5 separate regions of the Homo sapiens genome follow, and all the other regions are linked to region 4. The links are contacts of gene promoters, found by promoter capture Hi-C in blood cells and fetal thymus (Javierre and others, 2016). All regions are on one chromosome and are shown on one strand. The core of a region is centred on a gene start or on the middle of the fragment in contact, and the rest is flanking DNA. Distances in the headings are between cores, read along the strand shown.

Evidence for each region. The method cuts DNA at HindIII sites, captures the fragments that hold promoters and counts their contacts. A CHiCAGO score of 5 or more calls a contact.
Region 1: a contact is called between the fragment with the promoter of IFI6 here and the fragment with the promoter of SYTL1 in region 4, in 1 of 17 cell types (naive B cells). The highest score is 5.3, in naive B cells.
Region 2: a fragment that was not itself captured here is called in contact with the fragment with the promoter of SYTL1 in region 4 in 2 of 17 cell types (M1 macrophages and erythroblasts); the score reaches 6.3 in M1 macrophages.
Region 3: a fragment that was not itself captured here is called in contact with the fragment with the promoter of SYTL1 in region 4 in 5 of 17 cell types (total CD4 T cells, non-activated CD4 T cells, fetal thymus and 2 more); the score reaches 5.6 in total CD4 T cells.
Region 5: a fragment that was not itself captured here is called in contact with the fragment with the promoter of SYTL1 in region 4 in 1 of 17 cell types (M1 macrophages); the score reaches 5.9 in M1 macrophages.

What each region holds. Positions count from the first base shown.
Region 1 is chr1:27,667,840-27,673,643 of GRCh38, reverse strand. IFI6 (interferon alpha inducible protein 6) reads left to right here and starts at 1,452. Exons shown (of 5, transcript NM_002038.4): 1 at 1,452-1,521; 2 at 4,298-4,399; 3 at 5,109-5,186; 4 at 5,269-5,418. The coding sequence starts at 4,330. RefSeq lists enhancers at 1,081-1,420, 4,199-4,258. The HindIII fragment of the contact is 12,379 bases long and covers 1-2,914 here.
Region 2 is chr1:27,054,897-27,060,265 of GRCh38, reverse strand. LOC101928391 (a long non-coding RNA gene) reads right to left here. Exons shown (of 8, transcript XR_007065559.1): 6 at 1,744-1,868; 7 at 186-252. Among named protein-coding and RNA genes, the nearest start is that of TENT5B, 45 kb to the right of the region's middle. RefSeq lists silencers at 914-1,208, 1,934-2,228. The HindIII fragment of the contact is 671 bases long and covers 1,914-2,584 here.
Region 3 is chr1:27,653,235-27,658,940 of GRCh38, reverse strand. No RefSeq gene overlaps it. Among named protein-coding and RNA genes, the nearest start is that of LINC02574, 6.6 kb to the left of the region's middle. RefSeq lists a silencer at 4,028-4,430. The HindIII fragment of the contact is 5,418 bases long and covers 1,372-5,706 here.
Region 4 is chr1:27,338,014-27,343,271 of GRCh38, reverse strand. SYTL1 (synaptotagmin like 1) reads right to left here and starts at 1,250. Exons shown (of 15, transcript NM_001193308.2): 1 at 1,122-1,250. RefSeq lists enhancers at 1-615, 790-839, 1,370-1,629. The HindIII fragment of the contact is 10,600 bases long and covers 1-2,004 here.
Region 5 is chr1:27,034,986-27,040,016 of GRCh38, reverse strand. LOC101928391 (a long non-coding RNA gene) reads right to left here. Exons shown (of 8, transcript XR_007065559.1): 3 at 1,981-2,129. Among named protein-coding and RNA genes, the nearest start is that of TENT5B, 25 kb to the right of the region's middle. RefSeq lists enhancers at 1,554-2,054, 4,610-5,031. The HindIII fragment of the contact is 3,437 bases long and covers 864-4,300 here.

The DNA of each region.
Region 1 (5,804 bases), core at 203-2,702, 330 kb before region 4:
ACCAACAGATAATGGAGGAAAGGAGTCAAACTCAATTCACAGATAAGTCAGTATAATATTTTGGTATCAGCTGGAAACGGACCACTCTATTACAGCCCCATTTGGGGGTGGCACTGAATAATAGTGAATCCTCCCAGGGGGCAGAACTAGGAGCAGTATACCGTGTTGTTCCCTCTGTATGCAGAGAGAGAGAGAGAGAGATGGACTGAAGTACAGACATACACCAATTCCTAATAAGAGGCAAATGGCTTGGCTGGTTGGTCAAAGGCATGGATGGAACAAGATTGGAAGATTGGGAATAAGCAGGTGTGGGTTAGGGGCATAAGAATGAACTCTGAATGGGCATAAAGCACCTGGATCTCTATGTCTCATGTTAATGCTGACCAGAGATCATCTGCTGCAGAGGAGGCTCTACAGCCCAATGGCCAGGATGTCCCATCCTGTGGATGTCAGCCAGCCTCTAAACTTAGCCTCACTATTGCCTTGCAATAGACCTATGAGTGTCCAAGGTGGTAAGGATGGGGGTTAGAAATGAGTCCAACAACTTGGGCTCCCTCTCACCAAAACTGATCTGGCAATTGCCAAAATATAGCCAATCTGCCAGCAGCAGGTAGCAATATGGCAAAATTTCTCAATGAGAATAGCCAGCCATCTGGTGGCAGGTCAATTATTTCAGACCCCTTCCACTTGGGAGAAGGCAATGATTCATCCTTACTGGAATTTCTATGTTCTCCAAATAGAGGTTGCATTTCTGACCCATAGCACTTCAAGCATCACCATCCAAAGGCTTTAAAGAATGCTCAGTTCATTACCTAGGGCCAGGGGACCCATCTTGAAACTCAAGATCTATCATGATGGCCACATGAACACAGGCTTCACTGGTCTTACCATATGCCCATGACCCAGAAGCAGCCAGCCTGAGAGAACAATGGAACAAAGTGACTTAATTTCCAAAGTTCTGGGGGTTTATAAACAGCATATGGTATGTCACATGACTACTGTGGGATTGGAAAAAGATCATGTAAATAGAGCACTTTGCACAGACCCTGGCATGCAGCAAGTGCTCAATAAATGATAGGTGTTGTTTACTAATTGGACTGAATGGTGAAAGGCCTGTGTGCCCCAGGGGGAGCTGGTGATCAGGCTTCACTAAGCCCAGTATGGCCGTGGCTCTCATCATAGTGTGACATGCTTTGAATACCCTTAGCGGCTCCAAAAGTCCTCAGCTTGAAGTGCATTTTTCTGCCAGCAGGCAGCACACAAATGTTCCCGCTGGGCGGAGCTGGGAGAGAGGGGAAAATGAAACTCTGCAGAGTGCAGGAGCTGGGAGAGAGGGGAAAATGAAACTGCAGAGTGCAGAAATAGAAACTCCGACAGGGATTGGCTGCCTAGGGTGAGACGTGGGAGGATCCACAAGTGATGATAAAAAGCCAGCCTTCAGCCGGAGAACCGTTTACTCGCTGCTGTGCCCATCTATCAGCAGGCTCCGGGCTGAAGATTGCTTCTCTTCTCTCCTCCAAGGTAAACTCAGGAGCTATGAAGTGTGGGCATCAAGCTGCCACCCTCTGCCAGGCTGCCTGTCTGCCTGTAAATCTCATGTTCTGAGAGCCAGGAGGCCCCTTCTCCTGGGAGGCAGCACTCCTGGGTCCCTTTTAGTGCTCTGGGCTGGGACTTGTCTAAGAGGATGGGTTGGAGATTTTTAGGGAGATGGGATGCAAAACCCCAAGTGGCATGAGACCCAGCTTACAGGTGCAATATCAGCGATCTGTGGCCTTAACACTGTCACCTCTTGGAGCCTTAATTACTTCCTCTGTAAAAGGAAAGTTAAGTTGCCTTTGCTGCTCAAAGGACTGGATGATTTTAGAATCCCCTTTATTATAGGATCCAATGTGACAGTGAGTTCATCTTTAAGGATAGATGAAGCCATCTGGAGTGGTTGTTAAAAATGTGGGCTTGGTGGCCGGGCGTGGTGGTTCACGCCTGTAATCCCAGCACTTTGGGAGGCCGAGACCCACGGATCACGAGGTCAGGAGATCGAGACCATCCTGGCTAACACAGTGAAACCCTGTCTCTACTAAAAATACAAAAAAAATTAGCCGGGCTTGGTGGTGGGCGCCTGTAGTCTCAGCTACTCGGGAGGCTGAGGCAGGCAGGAGAATGGCATGAACCTGGGAGGTGGAGCTTGCAGTGAGATGAGATTGCGCCACTGCACTCCAGCCTGGGCGACAGAGAAAGACTCCATCTCAAAAAAAAAAAAAAAAAAATGTGGGCTTGGGTATTAGCCAATTGTGGGTTTAAACCCTGACTTTGCCATGACCTGGCTAGGCAGCCTTGGGAATATTACTTAACCTCTCTGAGCTTCAGTTTCCTTATCTATAACATGTGGTTGATAACAATGGTACCTACTTCGTGGTGTTGTTATAGGTACAAGTGGACTGCGTGCCATAAAGTGCTAAGTACTCAATACATGAGAGGAGTTTCTTGTTTTTCTTTTTAACTTAAGAAAATAGCATTGATCTGACAAAGATCATATTAGAGGTGAGTCTGAGGGCATATGCATTTTCCAGTTTTGTGGTATAAAGGAAAGAGCATAGGTTCATGAATTCTGACTGTCTTGAATGTGTACCCATGTTGCACAATTTGCTGTGTGACCTTTATCCCTTGTGATATTGTAAAATATATTTTTTCATCCCCCAGTTCCTGGCATACAACTCCTAAAATCCTTGGAATCTTCAAAGTGATAAATATCTTTTGAGTGATAACTGTCTAATAAGTTGACTGATGGCTGGCATTTCCTCTGGGGAGGGGAGAGGGGCTGAAGGTTAAGCTGATTACCAATGGGCAGTGATTTAATCAGTCATGCCTATGTAATGAAGCCTCCATAAAAACACAAAAGGACAGGGTTTGACAAGCTTCCAGATAGCCGAATACAAGGAGGTCTCCAGTGGGTGGTGCTTCTGGAGAGGAATGGAAACTCCATGCCCTTTCTCCCATACCTTGCCCTATGCATCTCTTCATCCGGAGCATTTGTAATATCCATAAGGAACCAGTAAATGTAGCTGGGTATGGTGGCTGATGCCTGTAATCTCAGCACTTTGGGAGGCTGAGGCAGGCAGATTGCGTGAGTTCAGGAGTTCAAGATCAGCCTGGGCAACATGGTGAAACCCCATCTCAAAAAAAAAAAAAAAAATTAGTTGGGCGTGGTGGTGCATACCTGTAGTCCCAGCTATGCTGGAGGCTGAGGTGGGAGGATCACTTGAGCCTGGGAGGCGAAGGTCTCAGTGAGCTGAGATGGGGCCACTGCACTCCAGCCTGAGCAATAGAGTGAGACCCTGTCTCAAAACAACAACAAGATCAATTTTTTTTTTTTAAAGAAAGAAACCAGTATATGTAAGTAAAGTGTTTCCCTGAGTTCTGTGAGCTGCTCTAGCAAATTAGTAAAACTGCAGGAGGGAATTGTGGGAACCCCAGTTTATAGTCAGTCAGAAACACAGGTAAAACAACCTAGGGCTTTCGATTGGCAGTCTGGGGGACTGAACCCTCAACATGTGGGATCGGCCACTATCTACCCATAGTGGTGTCAGAATTGAATTTGGGGACCCTCAGCTGGTGTTCACCAGAGGACTGATTGTTTGCTTGCTGGTGGGGAGAAACCCCCACACTTCTGCTGTCAGAAGCCTCTCGTACGGTGAGGGAAACTGAGTTTCTTTTTCCACACACCCTTCTGTGCTTTCTTTCTGAAAAAAAAATTAAGTTGATGTGAGGCCAACGTTTGGTGCCAGTAGATATTCAATGCATTGTAAGAATGAGTTTGTCTTAAAAATTTTTTTAAAGCAAATTCTATGCGTCAGGCACTGTTCAAAGTGCCGGGGATACAGCGTGGAACAGTTATTAAATTAACAAGTACCCTCTGAAATAGACTCTATTAATACCCCAATTTTAGAAATAAACAAACTGAAGCCCAGAGAAGCAAAGTACCCTAGTATCCTGCCCAAGGTCACTTGGGTACAAGGCCAGGAACAACCACAGTCATGATATTGACATCTGCGGAGCTTACCACGTGCCAAACACCGTGCGAATCCGCACAGAATCCGCACACCCACCGGTTGGGGCAGGGACATCTCTGCCACTGATGCGGAGAGGAAACGGATTCCCGAGGCTCCTGAGAGGGATCCTGGGTTCCATTCACCACACCTCGCTGCTTTTTACTGATTCAGTTGGAACTGGAAGGGAAAACAACGGAGCTGATGAGCTCCAAAAATGCTCCGGGGACCATCTCCCTCTCGCCCGTTCGCAGGTCTAGTGACGGAGCCCGCGCGCGGCGCCACCATGCGGCAGAAGGCGGTATCGCTTTTCTTGTGCTACCTGCTGCTCTTCACTTGCAGTGGGGTGGAGGCAGGTGAGAATGCGGGTAAGGATGCAGGTAAGGGGACAGGTAAGGGTGCAGGTAAGGATGCAAGTAAGGGTGCAGGTAAGGATGCGGGTAAGGATGCAGGTAAAGATGCGGGTAAGGATGCAGGTAAGGATGCGGGTAAGGATGCAGGTAAGGGTGCAGGTAAGGATGCGGGTAAGGATGCAGGTAAGGATGCGGGTAAGGATGCAGGTAAGGATGCAGGTAAGGGTGCGGGTAAGGATGCGGGTAAGGATGCAGGTAAGGATGTGGGTAAGGATGCAGGTAAGGGTGCAGGTAAGGGAACAGATAAGGGTGCAGGTAAGGGGACAAGTAAGGAGGCATATAAGGGTGCTGGGGGATGGGAGGAGTGTGGGATAAAGGAGAGAGTTTCAGGGTCCGGGGTGTAGAGGGTCTGGCGTGCTTCTGTAGAGACCCTGGCGTCCATTCCAATGGACAGCGCAGGGTTGGTGTCGCCAGAGTCCCAGATTCAAATCCCACTACTCTGTTCATTCCTCCATCCTACCGAAATTTACTCGATGCTAGTTCTGTGCCAGGCTCGGCGCCTAGGGGAAAGTCCCTTCCCCTCTGTGAGGCTCTCTGAGTAGGAGAGTGGTGGCCCCCGCCTCCAGGAGTGGTCCTGAGCATCAGACACAGAGTAGGGGACCCCTGTGTCCCACCCCAACACCCCCACTACGCTTTGTCTGCTCTCCTGCAGGTAAGAAAAAGTGCTCGGAGAGCTCGGACAGCGGCTCCGGGTTCTGGAAGGCCCTGACCTTCATGGCCGTCGGAGGAGGTGGGTCTGGAGGGCGAGGATCTCGGGCAGGCGGGGCGGGCCTCTGCCGCGGACGCTCCCTCACCTGCTCCTGTTCCTCCAGGACTCGCAGTCGCCGGGCTGCCCGCGCTGGGCTTCACCGGCGCCGGCATCGCGGCCAACTCGGTGGCTGCCTCGCTGATGAGCTGGTCTGCGATCCTGAATGGGGGCGGCGTGCCCGCCGGGGGGCTAGTGGCCACGCTGCAGAGCCTCGGTGAGTGCGGGGCCTGGGCCCCTGGTGGGACGTTCTTTACTATTATTTTCATCATACATCTGGGGAAACTGAGGCACTCAGGAATTAAGTAATTTACTCAAGTAATTAAGTAGTTTACCAGGAATTAAGTGATTCTTTATTTATTTATTTTGAGACAGAGTCTGGCTGTGTCACCCAGGCAGGCTGAAGTGCAGTGGTGTGATCTTGGCTCACTGCAACCTCTGCCTCCCTGGCTCAAGCGATTTTCCTGCCACAGCCTCCCAAGTAGCTGGGATTACAGGCACACGCCACCACGCCCGGCTAATTTTTGTATTTTTAGTAGAGATGGGGTTTCACCATGTTGGCCAGGCTGGCCTCAAACTCCTGACCTCAGCTGATCCGCCCGC
Region 2 (5,369 bases), core at 1,000-3,499, 280 kb after region 4:
ACTCGGGAGGCTGAGGCAGGAGAATGGCGTGAACCCCAGAGGCGGAGATTGTAGTGAGCCGAGATTGCGCCACTGCACTCCAGCCTGGGCAACAGCGAGACTCCGTTTCAAAAAAAAACAAAAAACAAAAAAACAACATCAACAATAGAGGCAGAGAAGAAAGGGAATACCATAGTTATACACACCTGACCCAAAGCAGGGCTCTGTTCCCGTAGACTGGTGGTTCTCAGGTTCCAGGAGAGTCAGAATCACCTGAGGGTTTAAAAAAAAAAACAATTTCCAGGCCGGGCACGGTGGCTCATGCTTGTAATCCCCGCACTTTGGGAGGCCAAGGCAGGCGGATCACCTGAGGTCAGGAGTTTGAGACTAGCTTGGCCAACATGGCGAAACCCTGTCTCTACTAAAAATACAAAAATTAGCCGGGCATGGGGGTGGGTGCCTGTAATCCCAGCTACTCCGGAGGCTGAGGCAGGAGAATTGCTTGAACCTGGGAGGCGGAGTTTGCAGTGAGCCGAGATCGCACCACTGCACTCCAGCCTGGGCGACAGAGCGAGACTCTGTCTCAAAAAAAAAAAAAAAAAAAAAAAAGAATCCCAGCGTGGAAGAGGGGAAAAGATGTAACCCAGCCTGCAAATGCGGGCTCCTCCCTAGAGACTGGCATAAGGTGAGTGCCAGCCCAGACGTGGCCATCACTGTAGCTACACAAAGCCTCCAAGGTTTCTGCCAGCTCTGGGGGCTCATGTGCTCATGGCTGCTGTCCTGCTTCTGCTGATTCCTTGCAGCTGTCGCCTTTACTTCTGTCCTGGAGTTGACCCAAATGAGGGGCAAGAACTGCAGGACATTTTCCCCTGCTCCCAGAGCAACTGCGGGTATAAGGCTGTTGGGCTGTCGTGTGAGGGGGATTTTCCTAAAGACACAGCACACAGGGAGAATAACAGAAGTCACCTTCCTGAGGCTGCCCCGCACTTGGGTTCTGAGGACCTTCGCTCCCTCCCCTCCTTCTCTTCTCCTCCCTCCTGTCTCCCCTGCGGCAACCTGAACTACTCGGCTCTCTCCCCGCTCCTCCTCCTCCTCTGCAACTCAGCTCTAGTCCTGCCTGAGGCCGAACCCTTGAACAGGAGGCCAGGGCTGGAAAGTTGTGGAAATGCCCCTGTGGGGAGCCCTGCCAAGGATGCTGAGGCTGAGCCCCAGCCTGGGGGAGGGGGTGTCCTGATCTGAGCAGACCCTGAGGGCAGACAGAAGGCAGCCAAGGTCTAGAGCTGGTGCCTCTAACCACCTCTACCCCAGAGGCTGTGGGATGCTTGGGAGCCAGGATAGGGCCGGGCTTTGGGTCTACACTACCTTGGTCCTGAGATGGAGTCTAGGAACATTGGTGGGGGTGCCAAGCATTCTGTAGAGGTAGGATGGGGTGGGTCCCTCTCACTTCTTCAGCCCTCAAGATTGCATACAACAGGCTCCTAAGAAATCACTGAGGCTGGCTGGCACGGTGGCTCACAGGTGGCTGAGGCAGGAGAATCACTTGAACCCGGCAGGCAGAGGTTGCAGTGAGCCAAGACCGCGCCACTGCACTCCAGCCTGGGTGACAGAGCGAGACTCCGTCTCAAAAAAAAAAAAAGAAAAAAAGAAAAAAAGAAATCCCTGAGGCTTTTAAGCCTCGGAGGGAGAGCCTGCTGACTCCTTGAGGTGTACAGAGGCACCAGTTTTTAGGAGGACAGAATCTTTCTAAGGCAGTTTGATTTTTACCTTCTCAGGTGCAGGAAAAGTGACTGTTTCCTTCTCTGTGAATTTCCCATGGACTAAGGGACTCCCGACAGGGGGAGGGCCCTCTTGGCAGTCAGCTTATTCTGAAATTTGAATTTCCAATGCACCTGGAGGAATCCAGAGGGGAAAGGTTGTTATTTATAACCAAAGCTTCCTTCTAAGGAAAGTAGATCCTGCTGCATTAACTAAAAGGCCCTTTTGTTCTTAAAAGGCCCTTACTGGGTTTGGCTTGGCAGCCTGGTTTGGGAAGAGCAGGAGGGGCTAGGGAGAGCTGAAATGCAGGGTCTCCTGTGTGAGAATTGGAAGCCCCTGGGGCATCGAGGTGTCTGTCACGCAGGGGCTGAAGAAGGGAGGCGGGTAGATGGGCATGGGCGCCAGCAGATGGGAGCAGCAGCCCTGTGCGGGCGGGGCTGGAGGATGCCTGAGAAACCAGCTTGTAAGAGCAGAGACGTCCCAGTGCCACTTTCAGTCGTGTGCTGAGCCACTCTATAACTCTTCCAGGGACCCACAAATCTTAGTGAAATTCTGCTTACAGAGCAGTCTGGTATCCACGGTTTCTTGGGAGAAGAAACGGGCTGCATCCTACATTTGAGTCAATTCCAGGGCAGAAATAAAGGGAACAGCTGCTAGAATTCAGCAGAAGCCGGAAATCAGAGGCACACAATTGTAAGCCTGAGAAATTGCAGAAGCCTTGTGGAAAGTAAGGGATGGGGTCTGAGCCAACCTTATTTCAATCCCAGTGGGCTGGCGGACCCCAGCTACCAACCATGGGTTCTGCCTAGGGGCAGATATTTGCCCCCCCGCTTCCTTGCTAAAAGAAGCTTGTTTTGTTCTGGTGGGAGGACAATGTACTAATTACCCCCAGGTGGATGGTGACTGGGATATTTACATTTGATCCACTCCCCTCTGCTGGTAATTGGGTTGGGGAGAACCATGGGACCCTGTTCTGGCCAATGAGATAAGAGGGGGAGGCTGCTGGGGGCTTCTGGGAGGAATTTTCCTCCTCTTACAAAAAGAGATGTTTTAGGAGGACCCCTGTCCAAGCCTCCCTTCCTGAGATGCTGCCCGTGGCAAATGCAGCCACACAAAAGTGCAGGCTCCAGGGTCAAACCATCTGGGCTAAAAGCATGGCTCTGCCTCCGATTGGCTGTGTTGTCTTAAGCAGATTACTTGACCTTTCTGTACCTCGTGTTCCTCCTCTGCAAAATGAAAATAATTGGACTTTCTTCTCAGGGTGCTGTGAAAATCAAATGAGTGAATACACCTAAAATGCCCAGACAGTTCTAGCACATGATAAGTACTCAATATATAACAGCTGTTATTTAGTTGCTCTCTGTGGATATGATGCTTGGAGCCACGGTAGTCATCTTTCAACCATGAGGGCCTTGACTCAAAAATGGTCTACCCCAAGATATCTTAAGATAAAAGTCCTGTGGGGTTTTTTTGTTGTGTTTTTTTTTTTTTTTTTTTTTTTTTGAGACACTCTCACTCCATTGCAGAGGCTGGAGGCTGGACTGTAGTGGTGTGATCATGGCTCACTGCAGCCTTGACCTCCCAGGCTCAGACGATCCTCCTGCCTCAGCCTCCTGAGTAGCTGGGACCACAGGCACATACCACCGCACCTGGCTCATTTAAAAAAATTATTCGGAGAAGGCCGGGCACAGTGGCTCACGCCTGTAATCCCAGCACTTTGGGAGGCTGAGGCGGGCAGATCACGAGTTCAGGAGTTCAAGACCAGCCTGGCCAACATGAGGAAACCCCATCTCTACTAAAAATACAAAAATTAGCCAGGCGTGGTGGTATGTGCCTGTAGTCCCAGCTACTTGGGAGGCTGAGGCAGAAGAATCACTTGAACCCGGGAGGTGGAGGTTGCAGTGAGCCGAGATCGCACCACTGCGCTCCAGCCTGGGCAACAGAGCAAGCCTCTGTCTCCAAAAAAAAAAAAAAAAAAAAAATTATTTGTAAAGATAGAGGTCTCCTCTTATGTTGGCTAAGCTAGGAAACTCCCAACTCTTTAGACAACTTTTAGCTTAGTATTCTGTTACTTGCAGCCTAAATCTCCCTAACCAATTCATAGATAAAAACTTGATACTTATGATTGTTTTATGATAAGAAATTAAACCACCTAATCCATGGGATACTCATATTTACTGAGAACACTGCTGAGAACCCTGGAGGCAGATTACACAGCATTGACTGCTAGTCATCCTCAAATGCGTAGTTTCTCCTTCTCTCTTTAATAAATAGAATGGCCATATTTTAGCTGGGCACATGCTGCGTGGCTAGAAAGCACATTTCCCAGGCCGGGCCTGGTGGCTCACACCTGTAATCCCAGCACTTTGGGAGGCGGAGGCGGGTGGATCACTTGAGGTCAGGAGTTCAAGACTAGCCTGGCGAACATGATGAAACCCCGTCTCTACTAAAAATACAAAAAATTGGCCGGGTGTGGTGGCCAGTGCCTGTAATCCCAGCTACTTGGGAGGGTGAGGCAGGAGAATTGCTTAAACACAGGAGGCGGAGGTTGCAGTGAGCCGAGATCACGCCATTGCACTCCAGTCTGGGCGACGGAGCGAGCGAGACTCTTCATCTCAAAAAAAAGAAGAAGAAGAAGAAAGAAAGTACATTTCCCAGTTTCCCTTGCAACTAGGTGAAGCCATGGGCCCAAGCTTTAGCAAAGAAATATGAATCGAAGTGATACGTGCCAAAGGATTGGGTATTTTCCCACCTCACTCTTCTGTCTCTGTTTTTTTTTTTTTTGAAACAGGGTCTCACTCTGTCACCCAGGCTGGGGTGCAATGGTGTGATCACAGCTCACTGCAACCTCCACCTCCTGGACTCAAGCAATCCTCCTACCTCAGCCTCCGGAGTAGCTGGGACTAGAGGTGTGGGCCACCATACCCAGCTTATTTTATTTTATTTTATTTTTTTTGAGACGGAGTCTCACTCTGTCGCCCAGGCTGGAGTGCAGTGGTGCGATTTCGGCTCACTGCAACCTCCACCTCCCAGGTTCAAGCAATTCTCTGCCTCAGCCTCCAGAATAGCTGGTATTACAGGCCCCCACCACCACACCCAGCTAATTCTTGTATTTTTAGTAGAATCGGGGTTTCACCATCGTGGCCAGGCTAGTCTTGAACTTCTGCCCTCGTGATCTACCCGCCTCGGCCTCCCAAAGTGCTGGGATTACAGGCGTGAGCCACTGCGCCCAGCCGCCCAGCTTATTTTTTGTATTTTTAGTAGAGACGGGGTCTCACTATGTTGCCCAGACTGGCCTCAAATTCCTGAGCTCAAGTGATATGCCCACTTCTGTCTCCCAAGGTACTGGGATTACAGATGTGAGCCACCATGCCCAGCCAGAAGGGCCATTTTGAAGGTGGGCACAGTTGACCCACCAGACATGAAAACATGAAGACCTAACTCCGACCTCTTACATACAAGAAAACAAACAATCTTGTTTAAGCCACTGTATTGTTTTATTGCTTCACTGCAACAGATCTACATGAAGCTCCAGAATATCAAGTGGAAATAGCAGCACAGAAATACTGTCCTGTGAGTGTTTCTGCGACCCATTGTATCAGTTCGCTGTTGCTGCATAACAAACCACCCAAGAC
Region 3 (5,706 bases), core at 2,831-5,330, 310 kb before region 4:
TATAGCCAGACTCAACTTTCAGCTGTCTTTCCTCTCTCCCAGTGACACAAACCTCTGCTGGGATCACTTCTTCCCTGAGCCATCCCCTCACACCTTTTACCTGGCTAACTCCTCATCCCTGATCATCATGGAAGAGGATGGATCCTGACCCCTAAGGTGGGTCTCAGTTCAGCTGAGGACTGGTGAGTGACTGCTGACCTCACTCAGCGCAGCCACTCCCCTCCTTGCCTCCTTCCCTCTGCCCACGTTGAACTTTCAGCTGCTTGAAAATACATGTCTCTCTCGCCTCTGAGCCTTTGCACCTGTTTTTCTCTCAGACCTAAACACTCTTCCCTTCCCTATTTAACTTGTATTTATCCTTCAAAAAAAAAAAATCTCAGTTTAGGGCCAGGTGTGGTGGCTCATGCCTGTAATCCCAGCATTTTGGGAAGCCAAAGTGGGCGGATCACCTGAGGTCAGGAGTTCAAGACCAGCCTGGCCAACATGGCAAAACCCCATCTGTACTAAAAATAGCAAAAATTAGCCGAGCATGGTGGCATGCACCTGTAGTCCCAGCTACTCAGGAGGCTGAGGCAGGAGAATCGCTGGAACCCAGGAGGCAGAGGTTGCAGTGAGCCGAGATTGCACTACTGCACTCCAGCCTGGGCGACAGAGCGAGACTCCGTCTCAAAAAAAAAAAAAAAAAAAAAAAAAAAAAAAAATCAGTTTAGAAGTCAGTTTCTCTATGGGTTGGAGGCTGGAGTTCATGACCAGCCTCTGCAATATAGAACACATACTGTCTTGGCAGTATTTAATGTCTCCCCATTAGAATGTAAGTTATCGGTTGGCAGTGGTGGTGGCTCACACCTGTAATCCCAGCACTTTGGGAGGCCAAGGTGAGATGATTGCTTGAGGCTAGGAGTTCAAGACCACCCCGAGCAACATAGCAAGACCCCATTTCTACTAAAAAAAAATTTTTTTTTTTTGAGATGGAGTTTCACTCTTGTTGCCCAGGCTGGAGTGCAATGGCGTGGTCTCATCTCACTGCAACCTCCACCTCCCGGGTTCAAGCAATTCTTCTGCCTCAGCCTCCCAAGTAGCTGGGATTACAGGCATGCACCACCATGCCTGGCTAATTTTGTATTTTTTTTAGTAGAGATGGGGTTTCTCCATGTTGGTCAGGCTGGTCTCGAACTCCTGACCTCAGGTGATCCACCCGCCTCAGCCTCCTGAAGTGCTGGGACTACAGGCATGAGCCACCATGCCTGGCCTCTACTAAAAATTTTTTAAAATTAGCTGAGCATACCTGGCATGTACCTGTAGTTCCAGCTAATCGGGAGGCTGAGGCATGAGCATCACTTCTGCATAGGAGGTTGAGGCTGCAGTTAAGCTTAAGATCAAGCCATTGCACTCCAGCCTGGGCAACAGAGCAAGACCCTGTCTAAAAAAAAAAAGAGAAGAGAAGAGAAGGGAGGGAAGGGGAGGGGGCGGAGAGGAGACCGAGTGTGGTGGCTCACACCTGTAATCCCAACACTTTGGGAGGCCGAGGCGGGTGGATCACCTGAGGTCAGGAGTTCAAGACCAGCCTGGCCAACATGGCAAAACCCCATCTTTACTAAAAAAATACAAAACTTAGCCAGTCGTGGTGGTGGGCGCCTGTAATCCCAGCTACTTGGGAGGCTGAGGCAGGAGAATCATTTGAACCTGGGAGACGGAGGTTGCAGTGAGCCGAGATCGCGCCATTGCACTTCAGCCTGGGCAACAAGAGGGAAACTCCGTCTCAAAAAAAAAAAAAAAAAAAAAAAAAGATGTAAGTTACAGGAGAGTAAAGATGCCTTGTCACTATATCTCCTAATGACAATGATGGCCACAGGCCCTGGCCCAAAATGGAATCTCAGTAGGAGTTTATTGAATTAATGAGTGAGTGAATCTCTACCCAGTGCTTGTCCAGTCCCTGCTTACATACCTCCAGAGGCAGGGAGCTCACTACTCTTGAAGCAGCCCACTCCGTTTGCAATTAGAAGACCTCTAATTCCTGCCCACCCCCAACCATTGCCGAAGAGATTCCCTGGAGCTGAGGCCCAGAGAGAGTGATTACCTTGCCTGAGGTAGTTGGTGCAGAGCCAAGACCTACTCAACTGTCCTGAGGGCATGTGCAAGCTCACCTAATCCTGAAAGAGCCCCTAGGTGTCAGCACTGGCCAGATCCCCCACAGCCTGTACCCATTTGTAGGCCTGGGACTTGAGCCGCCATCGCAGCCCATTTCCCCTTTGCTCAGGAGCAGCCAACCAGCATCTGCTGAAGACAGGGATAGCAGGTCCCCAGTCTGGGAGCGGGGAAGCTAAGAAGGAAGCACTTTCAGGTAGCACTGGACTTCTGTTGCCCCTTTCAACCCCCATGCCAGCCCTATAAAGCAGGACTTGTCGTTCCCATTTTACAGATGCGCAAACTGAGGTGCTAGTTACCTAAGATAACACAGCAAGATAGTGGCAAAGCCAGGCCTAACTTCAAAGCCTGACCTCTTTCCTCTGCCCCTCAGCTTGGTGCCTCTTGTCTATCTGCCCTACTTCCAGGCCAATTCTTTCCTAAGCCTCATGAGGTCCTGAAGTGTCCTGTGGCTTTTGTTCCCCAAGCTGGGTCCCGCCCACAGTGAGGACTCACCAGCTGTGCTTTGGCAGCAGCTAAGAGCTGGCTGAATAACAGGAGTCATCCCTTCCTTCTGTATTTAGTCACTCCCTAAAACTGCAGGGGACCCCGACCAAATTAGGTAGTGGCCAAGGAGGTGTTTTGGAGAGGCCAAGCCCCTGAAACTAGGCCAGGCCACCTATTTGCTGTATCACTTAGGTCTGTTTCTTTCATGGAGCCTCAACTTACCATCTATAAAGGGGGTGAATTATCCTTTCTCAGGGCCTCTGTGTGCAAGGATTCAGGAAAGCTGCTCTCCTCTCTGCCAGGCCACCTCACCTTTGCACCTTCACCTTGAGGAACAGATCCCCACCCCACCCCCCCCGGCCAGGGTCCTTTTGTTGGCAGAACTCCAGCATAAACTGCACATAACCTGATTGTTAATGGGGGCCACAGATCCGGGGTTGGGGGCCCAGCTCCCCAGCTTCAGCCCTTCCTGGCCTTGGTTCCTGCTGGGGAACAGGCTCTGTCATCATGTCTGCTTCCTCTTCTTTCTGTGGCCTTTGCAGAGCCATTTCCCAGGGGGCTCTGCCTCTCCTGCCTCCTGTCTCCTCCTCTGTCTTCCCACCCTTCTTCCTCACACAGTGTTTATCCGCGCCTACTCTGGGCCTGGCACTTGGCTCATAGAGCTGAATAAGCTCAGGGCCTGTCCTTGCAAAGCTCACAGTTTGATGGGGGAAAATGGACAAGGAAACCAAGTTACAATTTATTCACCCATCCCAAATCCTATTGCCCTCCCTGCCGCTACCCTCACCCCTGCAGTCTGCACTCCACGCAGTAGCCTGAGTGATCCTGTTAAAACGGAGGTCAGAACATGTCACTCTTCTGCTCAACCCCCTCGCCCCCCCCATGGCTCCTGGTGTCAGAGGAAAAGCCAATGTCCTTGCTGTGACCTACAAGGCCCTGCGTGATCTACCTCACTGCCTCCCACTCTCTGCTCTGATCACTCCCTTCCAGCTGCACTGGCCGCCTTGCTGTTTTTCAGCATGCCAGGCGTGCTCCTGCCTCAGGCCTCTGCATTTGCCCTTGGCCCTGCCAGGCATGTCTTCCCCCAGGTAGCCACGTGGTCTCCCATCCTTCACTCAGGTATCTCCCCCTCATCCAGGGGACTTCCCTGGCTGCCTATCTAAATATTACCCCTTAGTTGCCTTCTGCTCTTTTACCTGCTTTATTTTTTTTCTTAGCCACTACCAAATAACATGTAATTATTGATTTTCTTTTTCCTGCAAAGGCATAAATCCCATGAGGTCTCCTGAGGTTCCCCACCCCCAAAAACAAACAAAAAAAGGACAGAAGAGAGAGAAAGAAAAAGAATGCCAGAAAAATTCTGGAAAAAAAAAAAGGCAACACTCACTGACTACTGTTAGATAACAATATTTAAAGCCTCAAAAATTAAAACAACTTGGGGCTTGATGGGGTGGCTCACGCCTGTAATCCCAGCACTTTCGGAGGCCAAGGCGAGTGGATCACTTGCGGTCAGGAGTTCAAGACCAGACTGGCCAACATGGTGAAACCCCATCTCTACTAAAAATACAAAAATTAAGAGCCGGGCATGGTGGCTCACGCCTGTAATCCCAGCACTTTGGGAGGCCGAGGCAGGCGGATCACCTGAGGTCAGGAGTTCGAGACCAGCCTGGCCAATGTGGTGAAACCCTGTCTCTACTAAAAATACAAAAATTACCTGGGTGTGGTGGTGCATGCCTATAGTCCCAGCTACTTGGTAGACGGAGGCAGAGAACTGCTTGAACCCGGGAGTTGGAGGTTGCAGTGACCCAAGATCATGCCACTGCACTCCAGCCTGGGCAACAGAGTGAGACTCCATCTTAAAAAAAAAAAAAATACAAAAATTAGCCAAATTAGCCTGGCCTGGTGGCAGGCGCCTATAGTCCCAGCTACTCAGGAGGTTGAGGCAGGAGAATCACTTGAACCCAGGAGGCAGAGGTTGCAGTGAGCCGAGATCATGCCACTGCACTCCAGCGTCCTAGACGATGAAAAGAGATTCCATCTCAAAAAAATAAAATAAGAATAAATAAATAATTAAGTCTGGGCATGCTGGCTCATGCCTGTAATCCCTGCACTTTGGGAGGCCGAGGCGAGTGGATCACTTGAGGTCAGGAGTTCGAGACAAGCCTGGCCAACATGGTGAAACCCCTTCTCTACTAAAAATATAAAAATTAGCCAGACGTGATGGTGGGTGCCTATAATCCTAGCCACTTGGGAGGCTGAGGCAGGAGGATTGCTTGAACCCAGGAGGCAGAGGTTGCAGTGAGCCGAGATCAAACCACTGCACTCCAGCCTGGGCGACAGAGCGAGACTCGGTCTCAAAACAAAACAAAACAAAAAATAATAATTAAAACCACTTGGTTTGGTTCAGGAAGAGACAAACAGACCAATGGACTAGAATAGAAAGTCCAGAAATAGACCTAATTGCACGCGAGAATTTAGTATTTGATAAAGGTGTCCTCTCAAAGTGGAAAATGGACTCTTTAATAAATGGTGTTGGGACACCTAGGTAGCCAACTAGGAAAAAAAAAATTAGATCCGTGCCTCACACTGAGCACCAGGATGAGCTCCCAAGGGATAAAATATTTAAATGTTTGAAAAATCAAAATAAAACCGTAAAGGCACTAGAGGAAAACATGGGAGAATGTATAATCTCATAGTGGAGAAAGTTTAACCATGACTCAAAAATCAAAAAGCTGTAAAAAGAAAAGATTGATAAAGTCAACTATATAAAAATCAAAAACTTCTGCATGGAAAAACACTATAAATCAACGCATAAGACAAATGACAATCTGGGGGAAATATTTACAACTCTAATCACAGACAAGGGAACATCTCGCTTATTTAGAAAGAATTCCAGGAAATTGATTAATCTTATAGAAATAGAGGCCTAGGCCGGGCGCGGTGGCTCACGCCTGTAATCCCAGCAATTTGGGAGGCCAAGGTGGGCAGATCACCTGAGGTCGGGAGTTCAAGACCAGCCTGACCAACATGGAGAAACCCCGTCTCTACTAAAAATACAAAAAAATTAGCTGGGCA
Region 4 (5,258 bases), core at 1-2,500:
ACAGTGACTCCGGAAAGAAAGCATTTGCCCAGCGCTGAGGGGCATGTAGACGTGGCAAGGGGCCCATGACTTGGTCAGGGCTGTGTCCTGAGCCCACTGGGCGGCCTCTCCTCTCTTCCCCGCCCCTTCCATTGCCACGGCTCCAGGTGGGGCTGAGACCGGCGGAGGCAGCTTGGCGGGCAGGTCCTGGCTTGTGTCCGCCGCCTGCTATGCTCTGTCCCCTCCCAGCTGAGTCAGTGGCCGAGCCCCAGCGATCCCTCTTGACACCCTCAGGAGCAGAAGGCCTCAGCACGGCTGCACGGTGTGCATTCACTCTGTGGATACCTGTGTGCTCCACAACAGCAGTTTCCCTGGACTTCTGTGGCCAACGTGTGAGCCCACGTTCGGCCTCCCCTGTGGATTGGGGTGTGAGCCCACGTTCGGCCTCCCCTGTGGATTGGGGTGTGAGCCCACGTCCCTCTCTGTGCCCTGTTGTGTGGCTGTGTGGGTCCGAGTCTGGTGGGCATGTCTGCGTTGCGTGAGTCTGTGAGCTGTGTAGTTGCTGTGTGTCTTTGTGTCCTGTTGCAGTGTGATGCTGCATGGTGACTATATTGTCTGTGTGGTGTGTTCAGTGACTTTCTAGGTGACAGCGCCGTGTGGGGTGTGTACAGTATGCATTGTGCATTTCCTCCTGTGCTGTATGTGTGACTGGGCTGTGTGCTGTGGGGTGTCCCCTGGTGCCTTGGGGGCCACCAGGTGTGTGTGTCTGAGTGTGGATGGAGGCCGGGGGGACGTTCGGCAGAACTGAGCCTATTTCTGTCCTTCAGGCCTGCCTGAGCTGGGCCATGGGCATCAGCCCAGCGTCCTCAGCAGTGCCCCCTCCCTGAAGTCCCCTCTCCTACCAACCAGAGGCAGAATCTCCTACCAGAGTTAGGTAGGAGTTTGGTCTTCTCTGCTGTTTTGACACGGTGGGACAGACCCATTGGTCAAGAGGAGGGTCTGTCCATCTGTCCAGCTGTTCCAGTTCCAGACATGTGCCCACCTCCCCCAACCCCAAGGTGCTGGAGGGTGCTCAGGATACCAGGTGGCAGTGCCTGCGTCTCTGGACCCTGGCAGGGGACCCTGGCACCGACACGTGTTACCTGTAGGGGTCCAGTATGGGAGGACACCTTCGCAGGTGGCTCCAGCTCCCCTGGCAGCCGAGTTTCAGGGACCGGGAGAAGAGCCGTGAGGGAAGAAGGCTGACTCAACAGGCAGCCCAGCCAGCAGCTGCCCCACACGGAGGAGGAGGAAACACCTCGGCAGGGCCTGATGCAAAACCGGGCCTGGACTCCCAGCGCCCGGGGGTGCGCCCCCGCAGCCGACTGGAGAGGCCCAGCTTGGCCCCAGCTCCACTGAGCAGGCCCTCTAGAACGGGTAGCAGCCCCACCTTGCCCACAACGGGGCTGATAGGAACTCGCTTTGAAAGCAAGTTAGAAACCTTTCTTTTCCAGCCCCAAGGGGAATGGCAGGATGGCAGACTTTGCAGTTAGACCACCCTGTGCAGAGTCCCTGCTCTGCCAGTGGGTGTGTGATGTGACCTTAAGCAGGTCTCTTCCATTTCTTCTGATGCAAACTGTGGGTAGCAGAGTGCAAGGAGCCTATACTAAGGGAAGTGAAAGTGCCCGGTGCGAGCTGGCATAGTCGGGGTGAGGTGTCCCCACTCCAGCATAGCCTAATGCCCACGGCCATCTCAGCAGCTGCTGCCCTCTATATCCACATGCACTTCTGGGACATGCTGGCAGAGCAGCCCTCTCTGTCCCCTCTGCTGTCCTGAGCCCCATCTGTTTGAGGAGGCCTGAACTCTTCTAGTGCCAAGGTGAGGGTCCCACACCCTCTGTCTATGTGGAGCCCCCCTGAACTCACCCCATTCTACACCTAGATTCTGCCCACCCTGAGATTAGAAGGTTTGGGCCCTAGATTACATTGGCTTCAGGACCATGAACCTCCTGGGTTGTCTTGGGCACAAGAGGCCACACCAAAGCTTTCTGACTCCCCCCAAGTCCACTTCACTTCCCATGGCCTGCCCTGGCCCAACCCCCTCCCCTGAACCTAGGGCCATGGATTAAAGATTAGTGGGCTCCTCATAGACCCCTGGGAGAGGCAGGACAAGGGGTGGATTCTAAACAAAACCAGTCTGGGCACAGTGACTCATGCCTGTAATCCCAGTACTTTAAGAGGTCGAGGTGGGCGGATCACTCTAGGACAGGAGTTTGAGACCAGTCTGGCTAATATAGTGAAACCCCGTCTCTACTCAAAATACAAAAATTAACCGGGCATGGTGGCAGGTGCTTGCAGTCCCAGTTACTCGGGAGGCCGAGGCAGGAGAATCGCTTGAACCCAGGAGGCGGAGGTTGCAGTGAGCCGAGATCGCACCACTGCACTCCAGCCTGGGCAACACAGCGAGACTCCGTCTCAGAAAAGCAAACAAGGCTGGGCGTGGTAGCTTACACCTGTAATCCCAGCACTTTGGGAGGCCGAGACGGGTGGATCACGAGGTCAGGAGATCAAGACCATCCTGGCTAACACGGTGAAAACCCATCTCTACTAAAAATACAAAAAAAATTAGCTGGGCGTGGTGGCGGCTGCCTGTAGTCCCAGCTATTTCCCGAGTAGCTGAGGCAGGAGAATGGCATGAACCTGGGAGGTGGAGCTTGCAGTGAGCCGAGATCGCACCACTGCACTCCAGCCTGGGCGACAGAGCGAGACTCCGTCACAAAAAAAAAAAGAAAAGAAAAGAAAAGAAAACTAAACACCCACTCTTCCTTCCTGTAATCAGAACCGACTCCCACCACCACTGAGAGACAGAGGACCCTCCTCCACCTCAGAACCACAGTGGAGGCTTCCCTACTTATTTTTTGCAAATTAATCTTATTTTTCTCATCTGTTAAATGGGGGTAATCTCTCCTTAGAGGGTTTTCACTAAAATTCAGTGAGATCCTTGCAGACTTTTTTTTTTCTTTTTTTTAGATGGAGTCTTGCTCTGTCGCCCAGGCTGGCTTGGCTCACTGCAGCCTCCGCCTCCTGGGTTCAAGTGATTCTCATGCCTCAGCCTCCCGAGTAGCTGGCACTACAGGCGCCCGCCACCACGCCTGGCTAATTTTTGTATTTTGAGTAGAGATGGGGTTTCACCATGTTGGACAGGCTGGGCTCGAACTCCTGGTCTCATGTGATCTGCCTGCCTCAGCCTCCCAAAGTGCTAGGACTACAGGCGTGAGCCACCTTGCCCAGACCCCAGTACTCTTGATTAATGCATTTATGCACCCACACATGCAATACCCATGGAGCAGCTGCTGTGGGACCATTACTGTGATGCTGCCTCCTTCATTAAGGCCCTCAAAATGGAAGGAGAGTGGCCAAGAACATCCACACCCCTTCCTGCCATCCTGGTCCTGGCGCCCCCAAGGATGTTTCTCTGCCCTCCTCTCACCTCCTTAGCAGCTCTTCCTCCTGGAAGGCATGAAACTTCATTATCTGGTCTTCGGGTTTCTAAATTTCCCTTCCTTTCTCTGCTCTCCTGTCCTTCCTATAGCTGTGACTCCCTGACGCTGATACTTCCAGCCATCTCTCCTGCTGTGTCTCAACCTGCATTCCTCTGGCCTCTTCCCCACTTGAAACCTATTTCCAAGTTTCCACCTCTGTAACCAGCCCCCATCATCCTGGCCCCTGGCCTCCTGCTGCTTCCTGCCACCTCCAGATGCTGTCCACACTTCACTCCAGGTGCCCTCCCATCTGTGTGTCTCTGCTGTCCTCCCCCTGCCCAGGTCTCAGTCCCCGCTCAGCCTCTTCTGGAAGCCTCCTCTTCTCCTGCCTCCTTGCGGCCACACAAGGCCACTCTGGCCCTATGTTGCACAACTTTCAAACGTACTTTTCTTTGTCATCCTCTGGTTTGGAAGGTGCCAGCAGACAGCCAGGCCATCCCTCGGGCCCATTCATACATTTCTAAACCAGTCCAGTCCCCTTTAGACACGTCCTGAGATGGAAGTCTCACCACTTCCCAGGACAGCCTGGCCCTCAGCCTGACCCTCAGGATTGCTGCCCTTACTCTGGCTTTCTCCCCTTCGTCACCTATACCCGTAGAGCCTTAGCTGTGGGCTATTTCCTGTCCTTCAACACCCCTGGGCCTTCTGTGCTCCCTGTGGGAATACTTTTCCCCAGCTCCAGGACTAGCTCAGCCTCCTCCAGAGTTCAGTGCCCCTGCGCTGCAGCCAGTCTCTAGGCAACATCCCTCTGTTAAGAGGGACATTAAGAGGCAGGGTCCTAGAGGCCAGCAGATCTGGGTTAAAATCTGGCTCTGCCGCATGGTTCCCTGTGGCCTGGGATCAATGACAATCCCTGTAAGCCTCACTCTCTTCCTTTATGAAGTGGGGACAATAGCCATCTCACAGGCCTGCTGCTGTCAGGAGAGCTTGTTTTTCACCTCCGCGGCCATTCTCCTTTCGCATCACAGCACCTCTCATTTCCACTCCTGTGCTCCAGTGAGGCCATCGCACAGGGTGGCTCTGAGTGGGGGCTCTGGAGCCCAGCTGCTGGGTTTGAACCATAGTTCCACTCTTCCTACCTCTGTGACCCGGAGCAAATCACTACTTCTCTGCTTACTTCTTCATCTGTAAAATGGGATGATGGCACTTACCTTGTTGCAGGGCTGTTGTGAGGCTAAGATGGTATTTTATTACAAGGCCTAGCACAGAGTAAGCACTCGCTAACTGTTGGTGACTTTTTTTTTTTTTTTTTAAGAGACGGGGCCTTAGGCCGGGCATGGTGACTCACACCTGCAATCCCAGCACTTTGGGAGGCCGAGGCAGGCGGATCATGAGGTCAGGAGTTTGAGACCAGCCTGGCCAACATGACGAAACCTTGTCTCTACTGAAAATACAAAAATTAGCCGGGCATGGTGGCAGGCGCCTGTAATCCCAGCTACTCGGGAGGCTGAGGCAGGAGAATCGCTTGAATCCGGGAGGCGGAGGTTGCAGTGAGCTGAGATCATGCCATTGCATTCCAGCCTGGGTGACAAGAGCAAGACTCCATCTCAAAAAAAAAAAAAAAAACAAAACAAAAAAAAAGAGAGAGAGAGAGGGAGAGACGGGGTCTTGCTCTGTCACCCTTGACCTCCTGAGCTCAAGCTATCCTCCCATTTCAGTCTCTTGAGTAGTAGCTGGGGCTGCAGGTACGCACCATCATGCCCAGCTAATTTTATTTTTTAATTTTTTGTAGAGATGGGGTCTCACTTTGTTGCCGAG
Region 5 (5,031 bases), core at 1,333-3,832, 300 kb after region 4:
TCAGCAGCTTACGGGGGGCTGCTCTCAGGGACCACCCCAAAAGGGAGTGAGAAGCAGAAGCTACAGCCAAGGCCTCAGCCTATTCCACAGGGAATTCTGGGGCTGAAAGGGCCCTTTAGAGGCGACCCAAACTGAGGCAAGGCGGCCGCATCTTTGAACCTCCCTGTTGACTGTTAAAAATCTAGACTTATTACAGAGCTCTCCCCCATCCCTCCCATTTGCGGAACTTCACAGGTGTTTACATACATCCAGGAGCCCACACTGGGTCAGCCTCAACTCTGGGTGCTGCTCGGCCCAGTACACAGTAGGCGCTCACTGAATGTTAGAAGGCCCAGACAGAGTGGAGGGAGGAAAGAGGCTCAAGTTCTAAGGAGGCTCCCAGCTTTCTTTGTGGTTTGGGCCCCAGGCTAAAACAGGCCAAACTGGGGAGAGAAGACCATGCAATGAGTTTGGGACATGTGAGGCTGCGGTGGCCAGCCCCCCGAGAAGCCCCACCGTGAAGGAGGAAGAGGAAGAGACCGAGAGGAGAGGACTCAGGGAGGGGGAGCCTGGAAGGTAGAGTTCCAGAACGCATGGAGGTGGCAATGATGACGCCAAGGAAGGAGCAGCAGAGATGAGGACCCAGAAGAGGGGATGCAGAGAATGCGGCAGGGTCTGGTGAGGGCAGGGTCAATGCAGGAAACAGAAACCCCTCTTGGTGTTTTTAGCAGCAAAGTATTTAATACAGAGCAGTAGGTCCTTGCACAACCATCAGAGAGGCTCAATGAGCCAGGCCTCCAGGAATGATTCCAGACCTTTCCATACTCGACCCACTGAGAAAGTCAACGCCAGAGCTATGAATTCAACAACTTACCACTGAAGCTTCAATGCAGGGATCAGAAAGCTGGATTTAAGAAGCTGCTACCCCTGCTTTCATCCCTGCGACTACCTCTGAGCAAGCTCGAGGCTGGAGCCTGACACCAGATCACCAGTGCAGAAAAACCTCGTGTTCCTGCAACCTTGCAGGCTGGCAGAAACAGCCAAAAGGGGGCACAAAATAACTTAAAATTAATAAAATGACAATTTAGCAACAACAACCAACACTTACATAGTGCCTATTATGTGCCAGGCACTGTTCTATTATTATTTCTATTTTATTTTTATTTATTTATTTATTTTTATTTTTATTTTTTTGAGACACAGTTTCACTCTTGTCACCCAGGCTGGAGTACAGTGGTGTGGTATCAGCTCACAGCAATCTCCGCCTCCTGGGTTCAAGCAATTCTCCTGCCTCAGCCTCCCAAGTAGCTGGGATTACAGGTGCCCACCACAACGCCCAGCTAAGTTTTGTATTTTTAGTAGAGATGGGGTTTCACCATGTTGCTCAGACTAGTTTCGAACTCCTGACCTCAGGTGATCCACCCGCCTCGGCCTCCCAAAGTGCTGGGATTACAGGCGAGAGCCACCGCGCCTGGCCTATTCCTATTTTGTAAATGAGGAAACTGAAGCACAGAGAGGATTGAGCCTCACTTCTGCCTTCCAAACCCTGCTGCAGTGAGTCTCTTGGTGGAGCCTGTCCCCCACGCAGGCACAGCAGGGAAGGGACAGGCAGTGCTTTGCTGTCCAGCTGCCCCAGCTAGGAGGGTAAAATGGACTTGAGAGAGCCAAGCCACAGCGTCTGCCCCACAAATCACCACTACCACTGTCACCTCTCCACCAAGACTATGATCTGCCACCACCATTAGCAATCACTTGAACTACCCTCAAGTCATTACCAGCCCCCTCACTTCCTCCGCCAACATCGAGATCTAATAGAGCCATCACCTTTTCGTCACTCAGCATCACCATCAATGTCACTGCCACCGCTGCCATGATTACCCCCATTACTCCCACCCTGGCGGCAGGGTGGTGTCGAGATGGCAGTGAGATCACTTCCTTGCCTTGGTGCTCCCTGTGGTAATTGCTTAATGAGATGTTTGCAGCTCTGAGCATACTACTTACCCTGCACAACTAGGAACCCTCCCCAGGTTCTGATGAGGCCAGGATGGTTTGTGAGCGGAGGGCTCTGCGGCTGTAGTGTGGCTGGGAGGGTCTGAGAGCACCTCTGGAAGGCCCATTTTGTCCGTCCCCCTGCCTCATCAATGTTTTGCCTTTGTGGTGGAGAAAAGCAAGAGTGTGATAATGTAGGGAACTCGAAGAATCTGTCTAGGTCAACTTACACAACTGACTTCCCCTCTCTGGGCCTCAGTTTCCTCATCTGCAGGATAGGAGCAAGAAGAATTATCTGATCGAGTAATGTGGGGATTCGAGGTAATGCAAATAAAGAATCTGGCACAGTGCCCAGCGCCCAGGTGGCTCCCACATGGAAGCTGCTAATATCTTTATTTTATTAAACATTTATGGCTGGGCACCGTGGCTCACGCCTGTAATCCCAGCGCTCTGGGAGGCCGAGGCAGGCAGATCACCTGCAGTTGGGAGTTGGAGACCACCCTGACCAACATGGAGAAACCCCGTCTCTACTAAAAATACAAAATTAGCCAGGCATGGTGATGCACGCCTGTAATCCCAGCTACTCGGGAGGCTGAGGCAGGAGAATTGCTTGAACCTGGGACGCAGAGGTTGTAGTGAGCCAAGATCACACCATTGCACTCCAGCCTGGGAGACAGAGAGAGACTCCATCTCAAAAAAATAAATAAATAAATAAATAAATAAATAATTTATATAATAGTCACTTTGTGCCAGGCATTGCTCTGACACTTTACAAATTTCAACTCACTGATTTAAACCTCCTGAGATAGGTACTACTATTGCTCCCATTTTACAGATTAAAAAAACTGAAGCAGAGTTAAGTAGCTTACCCAAGATGACACAACTAGTTAGTGACAGAGCTGGGATGTAACAAGGGAGTCTGAGCTCTTAATCTTGGTGCTCTTTGGCCCTAAGTGCTTCACCCTGTTCTAAAAACCTTCCCTGCCCGCCCTGGCCAGGCTGAAGAAGACTCTGCTCTTTTTGTCTGTCATTTGGAAAAGGGCCTCCAGAAGTCAGTCCCTTGTCTTGGGATAGAAATGCCCCCACTGACCTTGTCCAGGGCCTCCCATCCCCCCCAGTCAGGAAGTCCTTCCTGTTGTCTGACTTGAATCTGGGCTGAGGCAGCAGTTCCCAGGGAAGAACCTCTTCAGCTGGGATACCTGGTGGGAGGGGCCTCAGGAGATATGGTGGAGGAGGGAGGGGGCTCAACCCTGAACTCTCAGAGAGTGGAATTTGGGGGGCAGGTTCTGGGCATCTGAGTGGTGGCAGAGCTCTGGGGCAGGAAACCCTGTTAGCTCCTCTCCAAAGGGATCTTGCTTTCCCCACCCCTCCATAACTGCACCAGCGACTTCTCAAACTACCTCCCAAGCTCAGATAAAAGCAGGAACGAAGGAAGTGACAGCATTGGACAGGCCAAGCCTGCTGCAAGACATCTGGATATCACTGTCACCATCAGACACCACATTGGCAACTGCTACCAAAGACCACTTTTCTTTCCTTTTTTTTTTTTTTTTGAGACAGAGTCTCCCTCTGTCACCCAGGCTGGAGTGCAGTGGCGCGATCTCAGCTCACTGCAACCTCAGCCTCCCGGGTTCAAGCAATTCTCCTGCCTCAGCCTCCCAAGTAGCTGGGATTACAGGCATGCGCCACCACGCCCGGCTAATTTTTTTTTTTTTTTTTTGTATTTTCAGTAGAGACAGGGTTTCACCATATTGGCTGGGCTGGCAAAAGCCTCCTTTCTAAGTGAATTCTTACCCTCCTGTCTTGGCATCACTCACTCCAAGCCCTGGGCTACGCCCCTTGGCCGCCCCAGGTTATGTGCCCATGTCCTCTCTGCCAGGGAGTAGGAAGAGGGGTCTGTGGTCCCCTCCAGCTTCTATAGTGGGCAATAGGGCCCAGATGTCCATCAAGACTCATGTAGTGGGGGCTCCTCCCCAAAGAGAAAGGGGCTTTGAATGTAATGGGAAGACAGGAAGGGCTGTCCTTTGATAAGAGGAGGAGTTCGTCCTCAGGAGTGAGGGAGGAAGGAGGAAATGGGCACAAGGCAGACAGAAAACAATGAAAGTCCTGCTCAGAGAGGAAGCCCGGGGGCCGGGATACACATAGAAGCTGGAGGAAATGCTGCCCTCTGTACCAAAAGCAAATCAAAGTTGGAGGCGCCCGGACCTCTCAACCCCAGGAGGCTCAAAGCCCCTTGAGCTCACCCAGCAACCTCTGCTGCCCCCCACCACAGGGGCACCTGCAGAGCACTAGCCCCTCTTTCATACTCTGGCCCAAATGTTGGGGGGAAGCTTGGCCCATTCCCTTTAGAGCCCGGTGGAGAGAAGAAACCAGGCTTGGACCTGCAAACAAGATGTTAGCAATGGCCCAGGGACAACAAAGGGGAAATAAACACAGACATGTACTATATATTCCATGTGCATTTATCTGGTACCAGCCAGATTCCAGGTACCACAGACAATGAGCACGCTGCCCTCATGGAGCTTACACTCTAGTGGGGAAGACCCTGAAACAAGTCACACTGCAGTAAACAAGGTGACCCATCAGTGCTGGGCTGACCACAACAAAGGTGAAAACATGGAGAGTAACTGGGGAGCCCCCTTTAGAGGGAAAGGTCAGGGAAGGGCTCTTTGGGCCAAGACTGGGACGATGAGTAACCAGACACGCAGAGACTGGGAGGCAACTGTGGGCTCCAAGTCCCTGAGGTAGGAACAAGCTTGTTGTGCTTGTAGAACAGAAAAGGGGCCAATCGAAGCTGAAACACAAGGAGCCGGGGGTGGAAGGGGGAGATGAGGCTAAAGTCATCCCGTAAAGAATCAGCATTTTATTCCAGCCAATGGGAAGTCACTAAGGACTGTCCTTTAGGCCTGGCGTGGTAGCTCACGCCTGTAATCCCAGCACTTTGGGAGGCAGAGGCGGGAGGATCACTTGAGGTCAGGAGTTCGAGACTAGCCTGGCCAACATGGTGAAACCCCATCTTTACTAAAAATACAAAAAGATTAGCTGGGCGTGGTGGTGCACACC